Regions from separate parts of the Homo sapiens genome. Here regions 1, 2, 4 and 5 are each linked to region 3. The links are contacts of gene promoters, found by promoter capture Hi-C in blood cells and fetal thymus (Javierre and others, 2016). All regions are on one chromosome and are shown on one strand. The core of a region is centred on a gene start or on the middle of the fragment in contact, and the rest is flanking DNA. Distances in the headings are between cores, read along the strand shown.

Evidence for each region. Contacts are between HindIII fragments. The CHiCAGO score rates a contact against its expected background, and 5 or more counts as called.
Region 1: a fragment that was not itself captured here is called in contact with the fragment with the promoter of LRRC1 in region 3 in 1 of 17 cell types (total B cells); the score reaches 7.1 in total B cells.
Region 2: the fragment with the promoter of MCM3 here is called in contact with the fragment with the promoter of LRRC1 in region 3 in 2 of 17 cell types (total B cells and naive B cells); the score reaches 8.4 in total B cells.
Region 4: a contact is called between the fragment with the promoter of EFHC1 here and the fragment with the promoter of LRRC1 in region 3, in 2 of 17 cell types (naive B cells and total B cells). The highest score is 6.7, in naive B cells.
Region 5: a contact is called between a fragment that was not itself captured here and the fragment with the promoter of LRRC1 in region 3, in 1 of 17 cell types (fetal thymus). The highest score is 5.7, in fetal thymus.

The regions. Positions count from the first base shown.
Region 1 is chr6:52,663,057-52,665,756 of GRCh38, reverse strand. LOC730101 (a long non-coding RNA gene) reads right to left here and starts at 1,356. Exons shown (of 3, transcript NR_024405.1): 1 at 338-1,356. RefSeq lists enhancers at 781-900, 1,272-1,566, 2,498-2,597 and a silencer at 1,272-1,566. The HindIII fragment of the contact is 1,656 bases long and covers 611-2,266 here.
Region 2 is chr6:52,283,466-52,286,246 of GRCh38, reverse strand. MCM3 (minichromosome maintenance complex component 3) reads left to right here and starts at 1,505. Exons shown (of 17, transcript NM_002388.6): 1 at 1,505-1,650. The coding sequence starts at 1,573. RefSeq lists enhancers at 1,028-1,227, 1,548-1,627. The HindIII fragment of the contact is 4,216 bases long and covers 1,381-2,781 here.
Region 3 is chr6:53,793,738-53,796,437 of GRCh38, reverse strand. LRRC1 (leucine rich repeat containing 1) reads right to left here and starts at 1,433. Exons shown (of 14, transcript NM_018214.5): 1 at 1,023-1,433. The coding sequence starts at 1,181. RefSeq lists an enhancer at 649-1,361 and silencers at 1,328-1,567, 2,613-2,700. The HindIII fragment of the contact is 4,441 bases long and covers 118-2,700 here.
Region 4 is chr6:52,418,924-52,421,635 of GRCh38, reverse strand. EFHC1 (EF-hand domain containing 1) reads right to left here and starts at 1,294. Exons shown (of 11, transcript NM_018100.4): 1 at 1,163-1,294. The coding sequence starts at 1,225. It overlaps LOC124901331 (a long non-coding RNA gene), which reads left to right and starts at 655. Exons shown (of 2, transcript XR_007059611.1): 1 at 655-1,427. RefSeq lists an enhancer at 734-1,325. The HindIII fragment of the contact is 6,560 bases long and covers 1-2,712 here.
Region 5 is chr6:52,364,468-52,367,167 of GRCh38, reverse strand. The region is part of intron 1 of PAQR8 (progestin and adipoQ receptor family member 8); the gene reads right to left. Among named protein-coding and RNA genes, the nearest start is that of PAQR8, 3.7 kb to the right of the region's middle. The HindIII fragment of the contact is 1,048 bases long and covers 772-1,819 here.

The DNA.
Region 1 (2,700 bases), core at 189-2,688, 1.1 Mb after region 3:
ATCCTCTCTGCATCTTAGTTTTTCCTTCTGTAAAATGGCACTGAAATGCTTATCTAAGAATCTTTGGGTGTTTTTCTAATCCTTATATGTGAAGCATTTAGTGCAGGGGCCCAAACAGGTACTAAATGTCCACTCTCCCCTTCCTGGACCACTCCCGCCCATATATTTAATACTTTTCACTTCCCACTTAATCCATACAGGAACAAGTTCCTAAACTCTGCTTCCCCCAGTGCACTTGGCCACATGCAGCTCAGACAAAATGATCATGATCCAGGAATGCCTTCTCTTGGAAATGCAATCCTGCACACACAGACCTTTGATGGAATACACAGCTTACCTTCTCTACGGGGGCTGCAGCTTTCAAGATAGCAAACGTCAACCCTCTTGGTCTTCCAGTGTTGGGATTCATTTTGGGGGATGGTCCACGACCTCTTCAATTGTGGTGAAACAGTCTTTTGGGTCCTTTTTGCTGGTATCCCAGCTCTGGTTCATTGGTGAGACGAACGGTAGGGTGAGACACATGGCCACGAGAAGTCTTACGACAAAGCCATGCGCTTAGAAAGTCTTACAAGAAAGGCAAGAGTTTGGGAGGGCTGGATTTCCCAAAGCTTTCACTGGGAGGATTACAAATAAAGCTACCACCCATGGCAAAGTGTCTACACCCACCCACTCTGGGTCTGCAAAGATTCTACCTCCGACAGCTGTTCACAAATCTACTCTACCTCCTTACTGAGATCCACCTTGGTCCTAACAGAACTTAACATCACCACAAACCCCCAGGGTGGGAGAGGAAAAGGAAAGGCAACCTCTCAGGGCGCAGGCCCCATGCACTCGTCACAGGTGGAAGTTAGTCTAAAAACCCTCTTATCAAAGGGCTGTCGTCTCTTCTATCCCTGTCTTCCCCGGCGCTTAGGTGTCGCTCTCAAGGAACTCGGTCTTCCTGGGCAGAGCCCGCGGTCAGATCCTGACTCCGAGCCCAGGTGGAGGGAAGGAGAGAAGAGGAAGGGAGGGATGGGAAGCCTTGCCCGGGTCGGAGCGCACATCCTCCTCCCGAGTCTCCGCTCTCTCCCCTGGGCGGCTCCTGGACGGCGCAGACGTCGATCCCACAGGTCCAGCCAACTCCCACAGCACCTGCCCCGCGTCCCCCTAGTTCTTGCCGCCGTTCTGGTTGGCCTTGGCGCCGTTCTGGCCCCGCCCCGGCGACCCGCCGTCGGCGGCTGCCTCGTATGGGTTCTCGGTGGCGCCCGTAGTCCCCAAGACCTTCTTCCTCTAACTTGCTTCTAACACACCCGGCAGGGGAGCAACCGCCTCAGCCTGGGACAGCCCGGCTTTGTGGGAGCAGCGGGCGCGCTTTATAAGGTCCGAGTTAGGGGACGGACCCACCTTGCCCAAACTACATGTTTATTGGCTAGTTTTGCCTGACACTCAGCCAGGCACCGCTGTCCCATTGGCCGCGCTCTAAATCCCGCGGATTTGTCCTCTAGCAACGTCTCAGAGCCAGGACCCTGGAGAGGGTCCAAGAGATCCCGCGGAAGGATTGCAGGGGCAGGTCCAGGGCCAAGAGGCTCCCATGCGCCCTCCGCCCGCCGAGCCCGCAGCCTCTCGACCCCGCGCGTCTGTGTCAAGGCATGGCCAAAGTGAGAAAGAGCCAAGACAAAACAAGTTCAAATAGCAATAGCAAAACAACCAAAAGGAAATTCAAGGAAAGCAAATATAAATGAGAAAAATATAATTAAGCAAAAATGAATGTTCGCAAAGGCAAGACAAAAAACCAAGTCAAGGAGTAGGTTCAAAGAAAAGATGAAACGTGAATATAATTTAGGATATTTATACCGATTCCTATTGAAATCTCGACAAGTAAAAATTTTACTGTCAGTGAATCAAACTTTCATCCTTCTTGCCTTTCCTATGAAAGGGCAGCAGGGGGCACTAGATGCTAGGGTTTGATTCGGCTAGGAAAGGCGTTTTAGCACGTTATTTGCAAACACAAAATAGTGTTCTGTTAAAGTTCAGAGATAGTTATAAAAGTTAACAGGAAGTGGGGAAACTAGAGTGATGGTCTACAATCTGGGATGTTAAAGAGACTGAATACAGTCACAGGTTCTTAGTTTCTGTTTCTGGCTGGGCCAGTAAAGCCCCTTCCTCATCCCTCTTTTCAGCTTCATTAGAGACAGAAACTAAAAACCACGGCTTCAGGCTGCTAAAAGCCTAAAACAAAACAAAACAGAACAACAACGACAACAGAATAAGGCGGGTTGGACAAGCTTAGTACATAGAAGAATGTGCGAAAAAGGTATATGATTTCTGTACACCCTGTTGGCTAAGTAGTACAGTGTCCTGAAATACTGGGAGGGTGGCAATTACAAAGAGTAAGGGGCAGTTTTTCAGAGGTGAGCTCTGAAAAAGATGCAGGACAGTGGAGAGTGACCACCAGGGCGCCAGGCTGACTCTCTGTCCTCAGCCTGCCATATGGACCCGTTTTGAACTTTTACCAAGGCCATGGGACTTTCCATGCTAAAACCAGGACCGAGGGTTTCCCAGACAAGGGACTTTCCTATAAGCAATAATGGTTACAATAACAACAACAACAAACAACAAACACTTAATGAGTACCTATTGTGTGCCAGGAACTATTCTAAGCATTTTACAAGTATCAACTCTTAATCTTCACAACAACCCTTGAGGTAGATACTCTATCCT
Region 2 (2,781 bases), core at 256-2,755, 1.5 Mb after region 3:
TCAGTAATTACCTCTTGCTATATAACGGCAAACAGTATCTTTATTCTAGAATTTTCTTTTTTTTTTGCCCGTTAATAAACATAAAAGCAAGCAGTCAAATGACAGCCTTTTTGCTTTGGCTAAGGATCGATTTATCTGCCCACTAGGATGGCACAAAACATACAGTAACTATAAACTGAATAATAACTAGAAATACATATACCCACACAAATAGATGGCCTATATATTTTGTTTAGGCAGATTATTCTTAGAATATTTATCAGTACATAGTGAGTCCTGAAGACTTTAAAACATAAGCTAATAGTTGGCTGAAATTTCAGATAAAGAATTATCAAATGTCTGATGTTGGGCAATCCAGTATTTCAGCTTCTTGTTCAGTAAAATTAAAAACACATGCTGGGGCAATGGGCTTGCTCTTTATTGTGCAGAGTGGTTACATGGGTGTAAGCACAGGTAAAAATTCACTGAGCTGTACACTTAAGATTTGTGCATTTTACTGTATATACATTATATCTCAAAATAAAACTAGAAATATAAGAAAAAGCCAACCACGACGGACTGAAAACAAACATACAAATTTGGACGTGCGATGATCTTTTAGTCATTATGGTTTCAGATTTGCTGTTAGTTACTGATTGATATTTAATCAAAGTGACGTGAAACACTTTTTCCCCTCTTGAGCTGATCGTTCAGTAAGCTAAGTTACTTAAAAGGATCTTGTGATCTTTTTATAAGACCAGAAAGCCTTTAATTTACCTGTTATTAAGTAAGATGGAGTAGTAACGGTTTCCAAAATTTGTATAACACACGATGAAGTCTCTAGGGGGCAGGGTAAACACAGATTTTTTTTTTCACTTCATCCTTCTCTGCGGCGATGTCTTTATGGAGTTCGTCAGGCAACGGTATCAGATAGCAAATGGGTTTTTAACTAATCTTTCCCTAAGGTACTGTAGTTCTATATTCTATCCTATAGATTCTCAAAATCCACTTTTACACTAGGATGCCACTGGAGGGCAGTTCTGATTTGGATATATCTTAAAAATGATTTGCTTTTATGTTTTCATCTCCCTGCGTTATAAAGCACCATCCTCTGAATTTGGTCGTTGCATCGGGTCAAAAGTTCTGCAGCTTGAAAAACCCTGCAAAAACATCCGGAAAGGAGGGAGAACACTACAACTCCCAGAACGCAATGCTTTCCCTCTCGCCAGCCTGTCCCCTCCAGCTGCTCAATGACCAGCCTCTGTGAGCCTCCTCTCAGCCCTATTGGTCAGTTTGCTCGTCAGTGAGTGAGGCGGAGGGAGGGGAGGAACAGAGAATCCCGGATGGTACGTTTCCCGCCACCGCGGGGCGCGCAGCGGAAAACCCGAAGAAGAAGAAGCTTTTGATTGGACAGTCGCTAGTCCGACCTCAGAGAACTCAGCCAATCATAATGCTTATATGCTCCCAAGGTCCCCGCCTCTTCCTCGAGGTAACCTTTGGTGGCGGGAAGAGTTCGGAAGTTTTCGCGCCGGGGTGGAGTCATCCTGGGAACCTCCACGCGACTTTGGTGGAGGTAGTTCTTTGGCAGCGGGCATGGCGGGTACCGTGGTGCTGGACGATGTGGAGCTGCGGGAGGCTCAGAGAGATTACCTGGACTTCCTGGACGACGAGGTGAGGGAGGCGCCGGCGCGCGGGCTCTAGCGCTCGGAGCCCCTGCGGACGCGGCCCGGCCGGGAAGCCAGAGGCCCGCCAGACCTCCAGACCGTGTGCCGCAGCGGAGCCTGCCGGGCCCGAGCCTCCAGCCCCAATCTTGTAACTTCTCAACGCCGGACTCGCTAGTTTGTGTTCGATAAGTGAACTCTTAGGAAGCCAGCTTTCTCTTAAGTACAAGCGATGGTCCGGGCGCGCAAAAGGCGACAGGTTCCCATTAAGTGCAAGCAGATTGGCAAAGCCCACCTCGGCCTTTTGCATTTCACTGCTCTCTCTTGATTTGAGGAGACTGTGGGGGAGGGGCTGCCCTAGGGCTATAGTGACCAGCCGCGTTGCAGAGTGCTCAGATTTTAGGGACTGACGTTTTACCTGGAGGAAAAGACTCCATAATTCGGCTGCATTCTTTTTCAATACCAACTAAGATGCAGATAAAAAGTGTTTTGTGTGCAGGCCAAGGGGATTTTATGTGCAACCCAAGACTTAAAGCCATAGAATGTTGAAAAAACCATCTTGAAGGGTTGATGATGTGACCAAATAGCTGAGATTCTCTATTCCTTTAGGTCGGGGTATGAGAACCCTTTCCGTATTATAGAGATGATTGGAAAAAATATTACTTTTTACATAATTCTTAAATGAAAAGCCATTTTAATGTGACTATTAAGAGTCTGTTTTATTTACATTTTTATTGTATATATTTGAAGTGCACATGTTTTGATATACATGGTGAAATGATTACTACAGTGAAACAACATATCCATCTATTCACGTTGTTACCTTTAACATTCACATTGCTAGGTTTAACTTAACATTTTAACAAAGTTTGCACTTACTGTCCATTTAGACTTCTCATGAGCTCATTTTAATTCTCCACTAAAGACAGAAATTACAGCATGCAGAAAAGTTGTCCATGATGATGGGAATAACAGCATGGACCTTGAGGAAGTCATTATAATTCTTATAGTCCCCTCTTAGGGTGTTATTTCGAATCTAAAAACAGTGAATGAAAGGGAGAAATTGATGAGCACATACTTACTGGGGATTCAGCTCTGCTGCAGAGATTGACTTAGCTATCTGGCTATGAGAACTACTTCT
Region 3 (2,700 bases), core at 184-2,683:
AGCAGTCTCCCTACTTCCTGCACACCTTTGGATTATTGCACACCGACTTCCTGCACACACCTGGGTTTGAGACACCTTCCCCGAGGGGTTACTCTAGCTAAGTTCCCGAGGCAAGCTTGAAAGAAGTTCGCTGTACCCCTACTCTCGGTCAAAGCACCATCAGCACATGTCGCTTGACAAGTTCGGCGGCAATGGAGTGATCAATTTACATAAACAACTCTGAAGAGATAACGCATCACTGCAAGGAGAGAAAGTCAGCAGGACGACTGTGCCCGCTCCGGGAAAGGCGGCTGCAAGGCTGGCCCGCGGGCAGAGCCTCCGCTGACGTTCACCGCAGCTCCCACCACGCAACAGGTCCACGTAGGCAAGGCCCGGGCGGCCGGCATCTGGGCACCTGCCCCTAGCGCTCCAGGCCCAGCTCTCCCCTGCGCCCATCTCGCGTCCACCCCCGCAGCCACCGCAGGCCAGCCGGCCAAGCCCACCCGCGATAAAGCACGGAGCACATTCCTCATTCCTCCCAAGATGCCGAGATAGTGCGGCCCGCTTGAGCGCTGCCCAGGTCACAAGGTCCTCCGGGACATGCCTTGACTAAAGGAGAGGCGCGCCCGGCCCTTGGTGGGGGAACGACCCCGGGGAGTGGAGGGGGGGAGGATGCAGTGCTCTGTAGCTTCCAGATGGAAACAGCCCGAATCACCCGGCTTCTCACCTGACCGGGCACAAGTGCCAGGTGTCAGTACCTAGCATGGATCTAAGTTACTTAACAGTCCAGAACGCTTCTCCAATAGCACGAGCCCCAGTGACTACGCGCAAAATATCCGGTCACTTTGAATAAAATGAAAAGGAACTTTTACTGGGAAAGGATGGAAGTAAAGAGACAGGGGGAGAAAGAAGCAGGTGAATGCATAAAAGAGGGAAGGTTCCTTCACGCCGGACCCGGAGATGGAAGAGGGGACGAGAGAGGATGGGAGCGGAAGGGACAGCAGACGAGCGGGCAGAGCGCTCAGGTGAGGCCGGACCCTTACCTCGGGCAGCTCGCGGAGCTGGTTGGCGTCCAGCAGCAGCTCCTCCAGGCTCCGGGCATAGCGGTAGATCTCCTCGGGGACGTAGACCAGCGAGCAGTGGCGCTTGTCGATGCTCTCCACATGACGGTTGCACCGCCACAGGGGGATGCAGTGGAACATCGCCGCCCCCGCCGCCGCCTAGCCGGGTCCCGAGCGGCGGAGACCCGGGCTCCGAGCCCGCTCTGGCCGGCGGCTCCGCTCAGTCCGCTGCCCTCTCCGCGCTCGTTGTTGGCTCTTGGGTTAGCTCGCTTCTCGCGCCGGGCTTCGCGGTCGGAAGTGCTTCAAGGAACCTGGAGCGGGAGCCCCTGCCCCGTCCCTGTACCCCCGCCCGCCAGCCGGTGCCTCCACTCCCACCCGCCAGTCGCCGTCGCCGCCCCCGCCGCCGCGCGGAGCTTCCTACTCGCAGCCGCCGCGCGGACTGAGCATGCGCGCCAGTGGGTGCGCGCCGAGGGCGTTTCCCGGCCCGAGGGATGCTCCGCTCCGGGTTTTCCCGGCGACCTGCATCCAGAGAGGGTCGACTGACCTGCGGGCCGGCTGCTGGCGGTCTGCTTACTCCGGCAAAGACGGGGGCGCATCGGGCCGTTTGAGGAAGGCAGACTGTGAAAGGACTTGGGACAAAGATGAGGCGGAGTAGAGGCGGCCTGAGCAGAGCAGAACAACTTTGATATTTAGTTTTATTTAACTCGCACTCCTCTCCTTGCTCCCCTTCCCCAAAACAACTTTCTCTTCCGGGGTCACACAGGACCGCCCCAAAGCGTACCTTGCGCGCCGGGGGCGCCAGGCGCTACTGGATTCGGTGTAGTTTTGAGGTGTTTGCACCACCCTCGCTGCTGCTTTCGTGGCTGCCCGTGTGCCCGCTGCTCACGGCTGCCCCAGAAGTGTGAGCTGGCCGCGCCCGGCCCTCTGGTCCTCGGGCACCGCCTGCAGGCTTTGTAACTTGGGAGCACATCTCTGGTGATCATGGTTTATGCAGTGAGTGATAGTAAATCCTCCTCCCTGTACCAGCAAAGGCATAGGAGTCTGAGAGTCTGCGAGATTCTCATAGATGTGGTTGCACCTGGCAAGGAGCCCAGCTGCAGAAATAAGCAGGCAAACGCGAGTTTCTGAGCCAGTTCCAGCCCGGCCCAGATGTTGGCCCCTGACAACTAGCTGTGGCTGGTGCGGAGGGAGGAGCGAGGGAAGAGGGGCAGATCGAGGCTGCCAGGTGAGCATCCTCCATACAGCTCCTGCTTTTCTGCTACAACCCCAGTCCCGTCCAGCCCGGATGACCGGGGAGGCTCACTATTGGGTTATAACAACCATTCCCTCGCCCCGACTCATTCCTGCGGACCACGGCCGGAATCCTGAACTGCCCCTCTTTGCCTGTAACTGTTTGCAACACAGTCCCCATCTCCGAATAACCAAATTTTCTCCTTTAATGAAGGGTTGCTAAAGTCAAGGTCAATCACAATGATGAATCATTTCCTTGGGGGCTTCTCTGATTCCCCACCCGGCCGCCCCTTCGTTCCACACTTTCCCTTTCAAGCATACTCAAACTCCAGGTTTCCACCTGCGGCCGCTGCCACGCTGGCTCTCCCACACTCACTCCCGCCCTCCAGCTGCTATAGCTAAAATCTGGAGCCACGGAGTTCACTTTTCT
Region 4 (2,712 bases), core at 45-2,544, 1.4 Mb after region 3:
TTAACTTTGTGAAGCTGGAGAGGAAGGCAAGAGTTTAAAGTATTAAACTATATAAACATAAACTACTGTTAGCTCATCTATGATGATCAGTCTACTGAATCTCATTATTGATTTTTCAGCACATACATTTCAGTAGCCCTGTCAGAATTAAAACAAACCAAATAATTTTAAGAGCTAAACTGTGGCAAGAGTTTAAAAAAAAAAAAGAATCCAAGCTGCTGCTACTTTTTAAAAAATTTTGTCTAGAAAATGCAAATAAAAACACAAGGTTGGGGAAGGAGCAAAACAAAATCTAAACAGGAATCTTTTTACAAAAACGTTAGAATAAAAAGAACAGGGCCGGGGAAGAATAAACAGCAACTAATCAATTCTTGAGGGAACTGGAAAGGAATATCTCTTACAAAGCAGGGAAAGATGCTTTGGGAGGAAGGTGAGCAAGTTTTGGGGAAAACCCGCAACGGAGAAAGAAAGGAATGGGGAGAGGATGGGACTAAATTGTGGAAAATGTAGAAGATGGAGAAAAAAGAATGGGGTTGGATGCAAGCATAAAGAAGAAAGGAAAAAGACCTGGCGGAAAGAAGAGGAGCGGAATCGATATACATACAAAACAGGAAATGGAGCTGGGAGTGGGAGATACTACCGGGTACAGGATTCAGAAGAGGAAGAGGTGGGGCGGGAATGACGGACCTGTGGGAATGAGGTTGAAGGTGCATAGTGGCGGGGGGTTTTAAGGGCGGCGATGGACGGAGACAGGTTATGATGTGAGAGAACGAGCTAGGGAGAGGGCCCAGAGATAGGTTGGGAGTAGGGTGGGGGAAACAGTGATCTAAAGGGACAAGAGGCAGGGGCTTGGAGGAGCAGGGCCGTAAGAAAGAACGCGGCTAACGGGATGAGAATGAAGGCGCCAACACACTGCCAAGATGGAGTGGGAAAAAACTAGAGAGGGATGAGGCGGAGGGCAAAGGATCGGAGAGAGGGGATGAGGATGGCTAGGGAAGAACGGCAGAAGTTCGGCCCAGAATAAAGAACAGGGTCAGGACAGAAGACGTGTTTGGAGAGAAGACAGACTTGAGTGGAGGGGAATGGAGGTGCACTGAGCGGGGAAACCTCCTGGGCTGCTGGAAGGTGGGGACAGGTGGGAGTCTGGCAGATAACTGCTCACCGTAGAGTCCTTAAAGGACGTGCCCGGAAGAAAGGGCAAGCCATGCACGGGATTGGACACCATTGCAGCCGGTACCACCGCCGCCACCTAGGTCCTGCTTCGTCCTCTCCGGTTGCCCAGGCGACAAGCAGTGTTCGCGGGCACCTCCAGGATCCATGGTAACGCTAAACATCCGGAACTCCCACGAGCGGAAGGCGGGGCCAGGAGGCGCAGGCATCACAGGAGGTTTGCGCGTGCGCCATCCGCAGGACTCCGCGTTCTCGCGGTAAGTGGGCCGCGGCCTTGGAGCGCGGCTAGTGGGCGTGGTTGTGTCGGCCCCTCCTCTTCCGCTTCGCCCCGCCCCGCTCCCGGAGGATGAGACGTGGGAGCTGTTGGGTGGCGCGGGGAAAGGCGGGTGTAGCGAGGCGGTAGTTCTCGCTGTGAGATCCGGGGTCCGAGCAGGCCCTTAGATGAGTTGCAGAGAGGGACGTTCCTTCTCTCCTTCCACCTAGTCCTGGCGGACCTCACTGCGCCCCGCCAACGCTGTGAGCTCAGGCACTCTTTTCTCCCCCCTCTGCCCCATTTCACACAGAAGTGTAAATGGTCGGTCCAGTTGGCAGTGCTACTAAACTAGACCCATGCTTCTTGTAGGCAGGGGCCGAGGATTACCCATGATTGTGTTTCTGTTGCTCAGGGATGGTCAATGAACTAATGCAATCATCTCATCCTTAATTCTCCCACTGCCACATTGTATTTTTCCCCTTTTAACTCTTTTTTAAAATCAATCTTTCTCTTTCTTTCTTTCCTTTCTTTCTTTCCTTTCTTTTCTTTTTCCTTCCTTCCTTCCCTCCTTCCCTCCGTCCCTCCTTCCCTCCTTGCTTCCTTCCTTCCTTCCCTACTTCCCTCCTTCCGTAGAGATAGTGTCCCACTATGTTGCCCAAGCTGGTCTCGAATTCCTGGGGTCAAGCGATCCGCCCACCTCGCCTCCCAAAGTGCTGGGATTACAGGCATGAGCCACCGCGCCCAGCTCTCTTTATTCTACCATCAATCCCTTCGGTTAAACACCTTTGTTTTTGTAGGGAAAGCCTTGAATATGTGCTGCAGGGCAGGGTGCACTCTGATAGGTACTTGATTTTTGTTGACTGAAGAGCTGCAGGTTGAAGGGTGGTCACCTCAATCCCTCGTTTGTACCTGCAGCTGCAATGAAAAAGATCAGAACCACTAGGAGGAACACAGCTCCTTCAAAGAGAAAGACTAAGTCTTGGGAAAGAAGCAGATAAGTGAGGTGAAATATTGTCAGCATCATAGGTATAGCCTTTGATGCTTTTTACAAAACTTGCTTAAATTATTTTTTCTTAAAAGAAACATAATCCTATTCCTGAAACATTTTTTTTGGGGGGGGGGGGAGAAAGCTATCCATCATTGCTGAGGAGCTTAAAAATAAAAAGTAATCAAAACCCACGTGCCGAGAGATTTGGATTCATTAGGTCTGACATGGAGGCCAGGAATCTGATTTTTGTAACAGGCGTTTGTGACAAGCCAGTTTAGGAACATGATAGAGTAATAAGCCA
Region 5 (2,700 bases), core at 46-2,545, 1.4 Mb after region 3:
AGTAACATCCCTCCCCCTCCAGGTATGACAATCAAAAATGTCTCCAGACACCACCAAATTTCATCCTCTGGGGGAAAGGGGCAAATTCACCACCCACTTCTCCCCATTAAGAATCACAGCTCCAGGCTGGGCACAGTGGTTTACGCCTGTAATCCCAGCACTTTGGGAGGCCAAGATGGGCAGATCACGAGGTCAGGAGTTCGAGACCAGCCTGACCAACATGGTGGTCAAAAATTACAAAAATACAAAAATTAGCTGGGTGTGGTGGTGCGCGCCTGCAATCCCAGCTACTCAGGAGGCTGAGGCAGGATAATTGCTTGAACCCAGGAGATGGAGGTTGCAGTGAGCCGAGATTGCGCCATTGCACTCCAGCCTGGGTGACAGAGGGAGACTTCATCTCAAAAAAAAAAGAATCATGGCTCCAGTCTAAGCCACAATGTATATTGTTTCCTGGTCCTTTACAAGTACATAAACCGCTACTCAGAAGACAGAGCAAAAACCAAACACAACATTCCAGGAAAGTTTCGTATAGCAATAATACCACCCCATCCTGCAGATATACTTTGTAATTCACTAATTATAGCTATTTTCTCCTTTTATGGCCTCTGAGTACATATTGGGATCTAATTTTGAAAGAGTTAATCCACCTCAAAAATATGAACACTATTGAGAGATCCACCTATTTACCCTTCTTTGAGAAATTGAAGGAAAATATCATGTAGTAAAATCCATATGAATTCTTAGCTCCACAGGCCATTAGGAGAAGAAGCTTTTGTTCCTGCATCATTGTAAGAGAGCACATGATGTGAATGAACTTCTGAAGGGCAAAGCCTGTGTCTCAAGCCTCTCCATCTCCAGCACTTGCTTGCCTAGAACAGAGAATTCTCACTAAATGGTCAACATTTCATGAAACATTAACTATTTCATAGCAGCCCCTAATCATCTGATTAAAATTAAGATGAAACTTTCCCATCTTTCTAATATATGTACATATATATATAAAATAAAATTTATAAACTTGAAAAAAAACTAGTGTTGACATTTACAGAAGAGCTGAGATTTCAGTGCCAGGCTATTCTTCCCTATTGTTTAAAAAACACAGCAGAGCAAAACTCACATTTGGAATGAAGGGAATGTTTACCAGAATCGTCTCTTTCAATACGTGCCAAGAGAACTGTAGCTGTTTCGTTAGAATAATATTTTCATTGGATGAAGGGAAAAAAATTAGAGAAGAGGCTTTTAAACTTTTTTCTTTCAGATTTGCCTTACCACACCAAACTGTTATACATAATATACAATCATAACAGGAATGCTCATTTAAAAAAAAAATCTGAATTCAAAAGAAAGTAACTGGGAGCACTGACTCCACTTATTTGGAGTCTGTATTTCCTCGTTTCTGAATAAATAAAAAATAACTAATTGTCGTTGCTTTTCAGGTTACCCTTTAAAAACTCTTAAAAGACCAGGAGGGCAAAAACCAAAATGTTCTATTTGTAGTTAGTTGCAAAACCTAACTGAAGGGAATATCATTACCTGGGAAATGATAAATTTCCACATGGCTTCAAAGGAATTTTAACATAAGACTATCAATAAATAATATTCCTAACAAGAATAAGTAGACTCTGTTGAGCACTCATGATGTGTCCGGCACCGAACTCAAGTGTTCTACACGCATCAATGTTATTTCATCTTCATCACAGCCCCATGAGGTACATACTCATTAATATCTTCATTTTAAGAAAACTGAGGCCAAAAGAGATGAAACAACTTGCCCCAAACCACAGCTAGATCAAGATTCAAGCTGTGGCTGTATGAAGCTTTATGCAACACAACCTGAAAAAAAAAATGCGAATTTTAAAAAGGGATATGTTCAGTACATTTTTTACTGTGTGCCATGAAATCCCAAAGTTGAAATGAATGTTCAGAAATCATTCTCTTCCCTTTACTTCTGTGGATCCTTTCACATCAAAAATCAAGCACCAGGCATTACCTACAGCTGGGGCAAATGGCTTTCTGGGTACCTTTTTTTTTTTGGTGAGACAACAAGTCTTTTGTATTTTTGTTTTGCTTTCTGTAAAAATCCACAATGACAGAGACTGCCTAGTAACAAGTATCAGGAGGGGCAAAGAAAGGCTTACTTTTTCTAGCCCAATAAGCCATAAGCTATAACAATAAAGTGACAGGACCAATTACTTTACATACATACCAGAGCATAAACACCAAAATGAAGGTTGTGCTTCAAAGTAGTTAAGTTTTTGAGGAGTTAAATGTTGTACTCAAAATTTCCACTGTGGAGATGATGGGAGCCCCTAACCCCGGTGTTATTCAGGGACCAACTGTAATTCCTTCCAATCCTAAATACATACTCCATGCCATTACTAAATGCCCCTTTTAGAACTGCCAGTCTTTCAAGAGAATTTTCATTACTTTAATGAGCATACTTATTGACAACCTCGATTCCCCACCTCGGAAGCCCAAGTTGGCCCCGCACAGTGCCTGGCTGTTTCCCAGCTGAGGAAGGTTTGCCACCACTGAGGCAATCAGGAAATGTGTTGCAAACTCGGAAGGCAACTCCAAAGCAGGAGCTCCAAAATTATTCTCAGTAGTGACAGCATCACTAGAATTAGTACACAGCTTGCCAAGAGCAGGCTTTTGAAGGGGAGAAATACTGATTTGAATGTATAAATACTGGCATATTTA